Regions from separate parts of the Homo sapiens genome. Here all the other regions are linked to region 2. The links are contacts of gene promoters, found by promoter capture Hi-C in blood cells and fetal thymus (Javierre and others, 2016). All regions are on one chromosome and are shown on one strand. The core of a region is centred on a gene start or on the middle of the fragment in contact, and the rest is flanking DNA. Distances in the headings are between cores, read along the strand shown.

Evidence for each region. The method cuts DNA at HindIII sites, captures the fragments that hold promoters and counts their contacts. A CHiCAGO score of 5 or more calls a contact.
Region 1: a fragment that was not itself captured here is called in contact with the fragment with the promoter of FBXO43 in region 2 in 8 of 17 cell types (naive B cells, total CD8 T cells, naive CD8 T cells and 5 more); the score reaches 8.0 in naive B cells.
Region 3: a fragment that was not itself captured here is called in contact with the fragment with the promoter of FBXO43 in region 2 in 16 of 17 cell types (naive B cells, total B cells, M2 macrophages and 13 more); the score reaches 9.7 in naive B cells.

Annotation. Positions count from the first base shown.
Region 1 is chr8:100,505,983-100,509,866 of GRCh38, reverse strand. It overlaps a transcript of ANKRD46 not described here. Among named protein-coding and RNA genes, the nearest start is that of ANKRD46, 52 kb to the left of the region's middle. The HindIII fragment of the contact is 182 bases long and covers 1,756-1,937 here.
Region 2 is chr8:100,143,846-100,147,665 of GRCh38, reverse strand. It overlaps FBXO43 (F-box protein 43), which reads left to right and starts at 1,849. Exons shown (of 5, transcript NM_001029860.4): 1 at 1,849-2,615. The coding sequence starts at 2,531. RefSeq lists a silencer at 1,666-2,125 and an enhancer at 3,237-3,386. The HindIII fragment of the contact is 15,929 bases long and covers 1-3,820 here.
Region 3 is chr8:100,573,628-100,577,464 of GRCh38, reverse strand. It overlaps SNX31 (sorting nexin 31), which reads left to right. Exons shown (of 14, transcript NM_152628.4): 13 at 390-446; 14 at 3,505-3,837. The coding sequence ends at 3,600. Among named protein-coding and RNA genes, the nearest start is that of ANKRD46, 16 kb to the right of the region's middle. The HindIII fragment of the contact is 3,224 bases long and covers 127-3,350 here.

The DNA.
Region 1 (3,884 bases), core at 597-3,096, 360 kb before region 2:
GTTCTCATCCTAAATTGTCTCCTGCCCAGAGTCCATCCCTGAAGTATCAGGCACTTCCCTCTCGTAAATGGTTGACCTGCATCTCTGAGCTGCTGTTAAAGCAAATTTAAAATAACATTTTGTTGTTTTCATTTCTTATTCCCTTTCTAGCCCTGCAATCTCTAGTGAATCCTTTTTGCTTTTCTTATTCTTTTCTTTTTTCTTTACATTTGGCACAGTGAGAAAGAGGCAGAAACAGAGGGTAAATTTTATTGCTCTTTTCATGAGAAACTTAGCATATAATTCCCAGTCCAGATCTTCAGCCCCAAGTCAGGAAGGAATCATCCCTGCTGGGAAAGACCAGGGCCAGAGAGCTTAGATCCAGGGGCAACTTTTCTAGAGATGTTGCTCCCTGGATTCTCCCACTTTATTTTTTTAATCCCATAAAAACAATATGGCAAGATAACAGAATCTTGGAAGATAGGAGAAAGTCTCTCTAGACCACCCCTCCTTTCATTACATGTCTTCCTGGTGCCAGGTCCTGTTGGCCACTGAGCCCCTTTCTGTCTTCCCTGCTCCCCTGTGACTCCTAGCTTTGTTAGGGCACCCTTCTCCCCCGGGCCTGGCCTCTAGGAAGTCACAGCTCTACGGCATTCCCCAGGCTCTCAGACTCATCTTTCCTGAAACTCTCCCACAGCCTCTTATATCCATCCCCAAAACAGTTCCCAGGGTCAATGCACCCCTTGCGTTTAGTACTGAGAACACAAAGCCTCCTTCCCTTAGCCTACAAAGCACACGGATCTCTGAGCAGCATGTGCAGTGTCAGTGCATGACCATTGCTGGGGAGGAAAACTTTTCTTCTGTGCTCTTACATTCAGTATTTAGGGGCCTGTACATTAAACTGACAAAAGACAGATTAGCAAAAGAAAAAACCAGGCATGGTGTGGCTTATGCCTCTGATCCCAGTGACTCTGGAGGCTGAGGCAGGAGGATCACTTAAGCCCAGGAGTTCGAGGCTGCAGTGAGCCCTGATCATGCCACTACACTTTAGCCTGGAGGACAGTGAGACCCTGCCTCCAAAAAAAAGAGAACATATTATTGTTCAAATTTGTGTGTACATGAGAGTTCACACACACACAAAAGCTGACTCCAGGAGGAGGTTAGAATCTGGGGCTTATATGCCATCTTAACAGGGAGTGGGCAGATGCAGAGGGGAACTTCTACATGACCAAACAACTTAGGAAAAATAAATAGCTTCTTAGGTGAGTCCACGGGAAGTATGTATTGTCCCCATGAACTGTGGGGATAGTTTTGTAACAATATCCGTTCAGGCAATTTCTTATCCAGGTGATGCCTTGTGTTGACTTCTCTTCAATGATAAGAGTCAATCTTCTCTTCTTGTGAAATTCCCGGGAAAGGATTTATAATAGTTGAATTCTTTGGGGAGGCTTTGCATTTAGGAAGATAAGGGGAGTTCAGGAAGAGCCTCTTCCTGCAGCTGTTGATTCTCAAATGTCTTCAGCTCAAAATACTCCACATGGTCCTGTGGCATACTGCAGACCTCTTCACCCTGCAAGTCTTTGGTCTAGAATACCCTGCCGGACGCCAGCAGCCCGCCCACAGGCCTAAGCTCAGGGCCCAAGCTCCTGAGCTCCTCTTCCAGGCCTGTACTGACGCTGGCCCAGGTCCGATCAGGCACCCAGCCCCCGATTCCGTGGCTGCCCACATGAACCTCAGTGGGCGACCCAACACGTGTGCAATGTTATGAGGGAAGCTTAGGGAAGGGAGGCTGGAGCCAGCCTTGTTGAATCCCCCACTCCTCACCCAGCTCCTGGCATACTGTAGGAGTTCAATAAATGTCTGAGGAACAAATGGAGGAGACTATGAATGTTTTGTGAGGGCTTTCTGCCCCTCAGGCAAAGCATCACAAGATGATATAAGGATACAAAGCCAAAGCTTTTAAAGAAATCCTCATTAACTGAATTAGTCATATTCTGAAGTGGCTTTTATCTTAATGAAATTTCACTGTATCTCAGTATTATTTGAAATAAAGGAGCCATCAGTTTGGATTTAGGAAATGTGGATTTTCAGGGTCTTGGGATTTGATTTCTAGATGTGAGTTGTTTTTCCTCATACACCAGAACCATTCTGTAGCAATATAATGCAAGCCACTTATATAATTTTAAATTTTCAAGTAGTCACATTAAAAGAGTAATAAGATACAAGCGGCTGGGCATGGTGGCTCATGCCTGTAATCCCAGCACTTTCGGAGGCCTAGGAGGGAGAAATGTTTGAGCCTAAGAATTCGAGACCAGCCTGGGCAACATATTGAAACCCCCCCACCAATCTCTACAAAATATCAAAAATTTGGCCAGGTGTGGTGGCACAAACCTGTGGTCCCAGCTACTTGGGAGGTTGAAGTGGGAGGATTGCTTAAGCTCAGGAGGTCGAGGCTGCAGTGAGCCATGATCCCACCACCACACTCCAGCCTGGGTGACAGAGTGAGACCCTGTATCCAAAAAGAAAAAAGAAAAGAAAAGAAGAAAAAGAAAGAAAGGAAAGAAGAAAGAAAAGAAAGAAAGAAGTGAACTTCATTTTAATCATATATTTTATTTAACTCAATATATCCAAAATAGTATTGACATGTAATCAATATTTAAAATTATTAATGAGATATTTTACATTCCTTTTTGTACTAAGTCTTTGAAATTTTACAGTTTCAACACATCTCATTTGGGACTGGCCAAATAAGTACTCAGTAGCCACATGGCCAGTGGCTGGTACCCTGGACAGTGCAGTCACAGACATATGTCCTCTGAGTATTCCTGGAAGGTCCCCTGAGAACTATGACGTTAAGCGGTGGGCAGTGGCTCTGAGCACACAGCTGCAGCCTAGCGAACCAGAGGCCCAGGTCTGTCTGAGGTCACGAGGCACAACCAAAGACAATGAAGAAGAATCCGGAGCCTCTCTCAATTCTCCCAATCCTGGGACAGGGCAGGATCCCTCCAGATCCACCTTTTCTCTGTCGTCTCCTGGATCAGTCTGCTCAGACCTGGGCTGATAGGCCAGAGGTAGGAAGTTTGCTCTTGCTGGTGAAACTTTATTACTTCATTCAACAAGTACCTACTGGGCAGCTACTACGGGCCAGGCACTACTCTAGGACTTGGGATACAGCCGTGAACAAAGCAGTTTCCTGCCTTTGAGTAGATAGACAATGAAAAGTAAACAAAATAAACAAGCAGGTTGAATAATATACTGTACTGGAAAGTGGTGAGTGCTCTGAAAACAAAGGAAAAATAAAACAAGGTAAGGAAATAAGAAGTGCTGGGAGTGGGGCAGGTTACATTAAATTCTGCGGTCAGAGCTGGCCTCATTGTGAAGGTGAGATTTGAGAAGTCTGAATGCACAGAGTTGAAGGAAGTGAGCGAGTTGGCCAGGAGAGTACCCCAAACAGAGAGAACAGGTAGAGCAGAGGCTCTCAGGTGGGCGGGAGCACACCTGACATGATGGGGAAACTACAAAAAGACCTGAATATCTGGAGAAGATTGGGCAAGGGCGAGAGTGTTGGGAGCTGAACTCACAGAGCTAAGGTGTCGGGAAGGAGAAAGCAGATCATTTAGGGCCTTGCAGACCATTGCCAGGGCACTGGCTTTAATTTTGGGAAAAATGAAGAATTGCTATGTGATTTTGAATGTAGTAGCAGTGAAGATGCCGAAAGATCAATGGATTGTGGATGTATTTTGAAGGTAGAGCTAGTGGAGCCTGAGAAAGGGTAGTCAAGGATGACTCCTAGTTTTTTTATTTGAGCAAATTGCAAGATGCCAGCCCAGGAAAGGCTGCAGCAGGGACAGGTTTAAGGGAGAAGATCAGGAGTTCGGTTTGGGGCACGTTGGGTTGGAGATGTC
Region 2 (3,820 bases), core at 600-3,099:
ACTGGTCTCCTAGCAGCCACCCTTGCCTCTCTTCATTCTGTCCTCCATTCTGCCACCAGAGTGGACTTTCTAAAATGCTCTTCAAACTCTGAAGGTGCAACCAGAACTTCCCAAGACTTAGCTTCTTCACTTCTCAGGAATTTTCTCTAATCCTTTCCTCTAACAACTCTTAGTTTCTGCCTATAACAAATTATTTGCAGCTTCTCCATGTGCCCAACTGCTCTTGCACATTTTGTTTTGAGTTTGAAATTTTCCTGCCCTTATACATTTTAAGTTTGGAATTTCCTGCTGTCTGCCTTTTAAATTGCCACTTGTACATCAAAATCTATCTCATGCACTCTGTTCTCCAGTAGAGTTAGCTGGTTCTTCTTTCCTTTGTGCTGCTACTGTTCCTCTGTTACAGCACTTGCTCTATACCAATGAGCTCCTTAACAGCAGTAACTGTGGCTGTGTCAGCTCTGTATTCCCAGTACCTAGCACAGTAATTGGCACATAGTTGGAATTTAATAACTGTTAGTGGACGGGCACAGTGGCTCATGCCTGTAATCTCAGCACTTTGGGAGGCTGAGGCAGGTGGATCACCTGAGGTCAGGAGTTCGAGACCAGCCTGGCCAACCTGGCAAAACTCCGTCTCTACTGAAAATACAAAAATTAGCTAGGCGTGGTGGCGGGTGCCTGTCATCCCAGCTACTCGGGAGGCTGAGGCAGGAGAATCGTTTGAACCTGGGAGGTGGAGGTTGCAGTGAGCCAAGATTGCACCACGGCACTCCAGCGTGCGTGACAGAGCGAGACCCTGTCTCATAATAATTTTAGTGAGTTTGGTTTTGGATGACTGAGGGACATCCAGTTGGAGAAATGTCCAGTCAGAGAAGAGTGGTGGTAGTGCCTGTTATTGGCTTAAAAGTGATGGTTGAAGTTCTGAATAAGAATTACATAAGCATGGGATGATAAACTAATAAAAATGCTGAGGTAGGACCTCTCATTTAGGGAGTAGGCCAAGGAAAAGAAGCCAGAAAAAGGAGACTAGGAAGAAGCTGCCAAGAGCAGCAGGAGTGTCCCTGGCATATAATAGACGCCCAGTAAATATTTATTGAATGAAAAAATTAGGGTTTAAAAAATTTATTTGGCTTTGAGGGTACTTGGGAGTTCATGATGCCCAAAAATGGATGTTTGTAAACAATGAACACATTTCACTCTGGTTTTTATGAATAGATTTTTTAAAAATCTTTTTTTTGAGATGGGGGTCTCACTATGTTGCCCAGGCTGGTCTCAAATTCCTTGGCTCAAGTGATCCTCCCACCTCTGTGCTGGGATTACAGATGTGAGCCACCAGGCCCGGCTCAGCTTTTTTATCACAAAATCTGTATATATTCATTGTTGAAACATGAGAAGAAAACACAGATAAAAAGAACTAAAAAGCAAACATAATCCTGTACAAATTTACCGTATCCAAGTTATTCATACCTTTCAGACCTCATCCTGTGTATATCCATATTTTTAACCTAAAAGGGGTCAGTTTGTAACTTGCTTTTTGCACTTGACAGTTTGGAGAATCATTTCCAAGGGAACATTCTCATACATGATTTCTAATGGCATCCCACTGTAGGCCACGTTAGCATTCCTAAATACGGTAATGCTTCCCAAAGTGGGAATGGGGAGAAGCAGAGCCTTTCTGACCCGCCTCGGGACGGGTGCAGGGGTGAGCGAGAGAGGGGGCGCTCCTCCCGCTCAAGCGAGGACCCAGGCCTGCGGGCGGCCGGGCGGGAGCGCTGCAGAGCCGGAGGAAGGGGCGGGACAGCGCGGCGCGGGGCGGGGCTGCGCTTAGCGGTTACCCCGGGCGGGCCGTTCAAACCTAAGGAGGTAAAGGCAGCGGCCCCACGCGAAGCTGGCGTGGGGGTTGCCATAGCCCGCATCCCAGGGGGCGAGGCCGAGGCTTCTCCCCGGCCCATCCAGCGGCTGCTGCCCGGCTCCTCTCCCACCTGTCCGCTTCGGCGCCTCGCCCGGCCCCGCGGCCTCCAGGCAGGCGGCGGGACCCCAGGCGAGTGCCCGTTAGCGGGTCTCCCGGCGGCCCGGCCCCGCGTCGCCCTGTGTCTTCCAGGTGCTGGGCCTAGGGAGGCGCGCGGCAGCCCTCACTCCTCCGCTCCTGGTGACGCCAGCCCATCCCCTGCTGCCCTTGGCTTTCTGGGCCTAGCGGATCTTTGACGCCCTGGTGAGACCGTTACCCACCCGCCCGCCATAGCTCCTCGGGGGAGTCAGTGCCAGGCTGCAGCACACGCTGCCTTTTCAGGAACCCGAATTTGGGAAGTTTACTCATGTCTAAGTCCAGCTGGAGAAAACAAGGATATTAAGATAACTATTTTCTGGAGGGCTGAAGGAAATTCAAAATGATTTAGACCTTCTCAAGTGTTAGGAATAATCCCTGCGGCATGCACCCTGTGTACCCTTCGACTTTGAGCAATCATGATGCTGCTGCACCTTTCAATTAATTGTGCAAACTAAAGTTTTCCTCTTTAAGTGGCATTATTTTGGCATGAGTTTTAAAGACAAAGATGAGAGAATTTCTTGTTTGGAAGCCTACGTAACTTTGACATCTAAGAGCTCAAGATTTACTGATGGTAAGAGTTTCCACTTTAACAAATGAAGAACATTTGGGTTTAATGTAAGTACTTCATTCTCTGATGTGGTAGGTGCTTTTTCTTTTTTTTCTTTTTCTTTTTTCTTTCTTTTTTTTTTTTTGAGACGGAGTCGCTCTGTCGCCCAGGCTGGAGTGCAGTGGCGCGATCTCGGCTCACTGCAAGCTCCACCTCCCGGGTTCACGCCATTCTCCTGCCTCAGCCTCCCGAGTAGCTGGGACTACAGGCGCCCGCCACCACGCCCGGATAATTTTTTTGTATTTTTAGTGGAGACGGGGTTTCACCGTGTTAGCCAGGTTGGTCTCGCTCTCCTGACCTCGTGATCCGCCCGCCCCGGCCTCCCAAAGTGCTGGGATTACGGGCGTGAGCCACCGCGCCCGGCCGCTGCTTTTTTTTTTTTTTTTCTTAAAGAACACTTTAGGAATAAGTTTTCTCAGCCTTTTATCAGAAGCCTAGTTTTTAAAAATGAATATCGAAGAGGCTTGATTGATTTATCCGTGAACTGTTGAGTCCATAAAATACAACAGACAGTCCATGATTTTACATGAATAATTTTAAAATTCAGTTGCGAAGAACCACGTTTGAGACCAACGTCTTGGGGTAGTAGAAAGATGAAAATGCTAGCAGAGAAAGGACGTTGGAGGCAACTTCAAGTGTGTAGATGAACAGAAACAATTTTTTTTTTAAGAGATGGGGTCTCACTATGTTACCCAGGCTGGTCTTAAACTCCTGGACTCAAGCATTTCTCCCGCCGCGGCCTCCTAAAGTGCTGGGATTACAGGCGTGAGCCACCGGCCAGAATAGATTTTTGGATAACATTTTAGAGGAAAGAGATAATATCTGCATTCCCCACTTTGTTTTTAACAATTTGCCTCTGAGTTTCCCAAATTCTAGCATTGTGAGACACCTAGTGGTGAAGTAGCAGTACAATTGCCATAACCTTTTAAAAGGACCGTGACCTGCCGGGCGCGTTGGCTATTGCCTGTAATCCCAGCACTTTGGGAGGCCAAGGTTGGGTGGATCACCTGAGGTCAGGAGTTCGAGACCAGCCTGGCCAACATGGCGAAAGCCCGTCTCTACTAAAAATACACAAATTAGCCGGGCGTGGTCGTGGGCGCCTGTAATCCCAGTCAGTGGGGAAGCTGATACAGGAAAATTGGTTGAACCCGGGAGGCAGAGGCTGCAGT
Region 3 (3,837 bases), core at 489-2,988, 430 kb before region 2:
ATTAATGGTGGCTTTTGATTAACCAAAGCCCCGCTGGGCTTTGAGTCAGCATATGGATTGCAACCCCAAGAATTATTTCAGGATTTAGAAGGACATTTCATTTCGTGTGATGTTCTTTTAAAAGCTTTCTTCAATCACAAAATCCATAGGCAACCACTAATGTGAAACATTAAGTTTTACTTAACTTTTGGGGACTCTATTTCTGTAACATTTAGACCCTGACAAGTGAAAGAGGAATGCACAGATGACAAGCAGGTGTACCTGCTGACCGGCAGCCTTTGGGACGATTAAGAGGATTATCGTGGAAGGGAAAGTGTGCTAGTTAAATAGATTGTTTGTGTGCTTGCTTCTCTGGGCTGAGCTGACTGACATTTCACTAATCTATCTAGCAGATTGAAGTTCCGGAACAAAGCAAAAGTAAAAAATACCACATTCAACAAAGCCAGGTCTGTGAGTAAAATTATGTAATTGGTACATTATAATTTTGATAAATCTGATCTTTTTTCCTCTTTAACCAAAGTCATCTCACTTTCAATAATAAGTCAGAATTATGTTTCTCAGAAGCTCCTCTTTGTAGATTGGGCCAATTGGAAGGCCATCACAGAAGTATAGTATTTTTATTGTAGCACCCCATAGCACTACCAAGAATTTTTACATAGAAAATTTCCAAGAGAAACACAAAATTATTTGGTGATTTTTTTGTACACCCCTTGCACTTTTTGGAGGCAACTCTCTTTCTAATTTGTATATGTTACATATCTAGTATATTTTGGTCTCATAGTTTTCTGCAGTATACTCTGTATAAAGCAACTTTTAAGTTTACAAAATACTTTTTGAGCATTTAGATCTGCTGTGCAGATAATAATAGAAAAAATCACAATCAATGACATTTTTGAGCACTCATTATTGCCAGGCAGTATTCTAAGCACTTTTATGTGAATTAACACATTCCTTCACAGCCCTATAAATAAGTTGAGGAAATTAGTGCACAGAGAGGTTTTGTGACCTGCCCAAGGTTGCACAGCAGTCAAAGATGGAAAGAAGCAGGCAGTCTGACCCTGGAACTATGCCCTTAACTAACTGTGCCCTTGCTAACTCTTCCTTTCTAAGTCCAAATCCTAGTGTAGGTGAATGAAAGAAAAGTGACTTCTAAGTAGCATTTGAATGGGATTTCTTCTTGATCCAGCACCTGTCACAGAACTGGTGTGTATGTAAACATCCTTAGTATATATGTACAGTATTTATAAATATGTAAGTATATAAAGTCCTTTCTTGAATGAATACAGTCAGGGAAAATAAACTAGCAGAAATGCATAAAAGCATTCTCCTTCATAATCACAGCACTTCTGGCTGGTTGGACAGAGAGACGAGATAGGAACTCCACTGCTTACTGGCTATGTGTCATTAGGCAGATCCAAAACCTAACTTCATTAGGGACTCTGATACTGCACTTCCATATCTTTGTCTGTAAAATGTAGATGGCAATCACTTCATCATTTTAATGCACCCATTTTAGCAGCATGCCGACAGCATGGAGCTGTGGTTCTCAACTTTGGCTGCACATTGGAATCACCTGGGGAGCTCTAAAAACTAATGCTTGAGCCCCACCCTCAGAAATTTGGATTTAATTGGTCTGAGGGGCCTGGGCAATGGAATTTTTAAAAGCTCCCCAAGTGGTCCTATTATACAACCAGAATTGGAACCATTATCCTAGAACACCAGTTCTCAGTGTGTGGTCCCTGGACCAACAGCATCTGTATCACGTGGATCTTATTAGAAATTCAAATTCTCAGGCCCCAAACCTACTGGATCAGCAGCTCTGGGGGAAGGCCGCAGCAATCTCTTTAACACGCCCACCAGACAAATCTGATGCATGTTCAAGTTTGAGAGCCACTGTCCTAGGACAACAGATAACACTCAGCACAACTGTGATCAGTTCAGTTGTCCTCTCGGATGAGTGGTAACTCTAATACAGGCCAACCTATCTCATGCTGTGAGTAGGACCAGCAGGTCGGAAAGAGACCTAGTGTCCAACTATATTGAGTTTTAATTTATTTTGCAAACTGTTGTATAGACCTTATCCTGAGCCATGAACTGCTATAATTACTTTTTATGTATAACTCGTTTAATCCCAATAAACAACCAAAGCACTGTTATTATCCTTGGCTTACTGCACAGAGAACTGAAACACAGAAAGGTTAAGTCACTTGCTCAAGGTCACACAGTCAGTTAATATCAGAGCCAGTATTTGAACCCAAGCAGTCTTTATTTGTTGTTTAACAAATAAAATTAGTTTGTTGCTTTAACCACTTGGCAGTGAGGCCCCTCTATCAAAACAAATCCCTCGTAGAAAAAAAGTTGTAGCCCATCTGCCCACTGAGGGGCTCCACATTTTTTTTTTCACTTTCCACTTTCCATAACCGTGTCTTTGAGATTTCATAAGTACTGAAGGCAAATTACTCTTTAAAGATTTGCGGTAACCCTAACCTCTAAAATGTTTTAAAATAAGCATAACACTTTTTTTTTCTAATGAGACAGAGTCTCGCTCCCTTGCCCAGGCTGGAGTGCGGTGGTGCCATCTCGGCTCATTGCAACCTCCACCTCCCAGGTTCAAGCGATCCTCCTGCCTCAGCCTCCTGAGTAGCTGGGATTACAGGTGTGCACCACCACATCCGGCTAGTTTTTGTAGTTTTGGTAGAGATGGGGTTTCACCATGCTGGCCAGGCTGGTCTCGTACTCCTGGCCTCAAGTGATCCACCACCTCAGCCTCCCAACGTGCTGGGATTACAGGCGTGAGCCACTGTACACGGCCTCTTCTTTTTTTTTTTTTTTTTAGACGGAGTCTCACTCTGTTGCCAGGCTGAAGTGCAGTGGCACAATCTTGGCTCACTGAAACCTCTGCCTCCAGGGTTCAAGTGATTCCCCTGCCTCAGCCTCCCGAATAGCTCGGACCACAGGCGCCAGCCACCATGCCTAGCTAATTTTTTTGTATTTTATTAGAGATGGGGTTTCACCACGTTGGCCAGGGTGGTCTTGATCTCCTGAACTCGTGATCTGCCCGCCTTGGCCTCCCAAAGTGTTGGGATTACAGGCATGAGCCACTGCGCCTGGCCGCCCAGCCTCTTTTTTAAAGTTTGTATTTGTGTGGAATGTGCACTAAAGATTTTGGGCAAAGTTAAAAATTGAAAGTCGCATGGCTTTAAGAGGGGAAAGAGGCAAGACAGGTAGAGTTAAATGTTAACCTGGGTGATATCCCAGGGCCCTGAAAGATGCAGAGGACACATAAAACCAGTAGGCGGTGCTCTTCTCAGTCCTAACGAGTGTATTTACACTCACCCCAAAATAAAGCTTCTACAGAATAAAACTGTTTAAAATAACCATTGCTTATACAAATGTAAGCTTTCTGTTGCCCTTTCAATACTGTTTTAACCTCTGTGACTTTGTTATTGTTATGGAAATGATTTCCTTTCATTTACATTTCTGACCTCTCTGTTTACTTCACAGCAGAAAGACTATTCTAGTTTTCTATCAAGAAAAAGCAAGATTAAGATAGCTAAAGATGACTGCGTTTTTGGGAACATAAAGGAAGAAGATCTCTGAAGAAAGCTCTCATATTTTAAAATATCCTTGGAGGCTATCTCAAGACAGTGAAAGAACTTGGGGATTCAGGTGGGCTACCTACCATCAGTGGAGGAAATTTGACCTCTTCCCATTTTTTTGGCATTAACATGGACTGTATTCATCAAGGTATTATACCACAGCACTCTATGGAAATCTCAAGATTAGAAAAAAAAAAAGAACCAAGTTATAGAGTTAGTTTTTATTTTATTTTTGCAC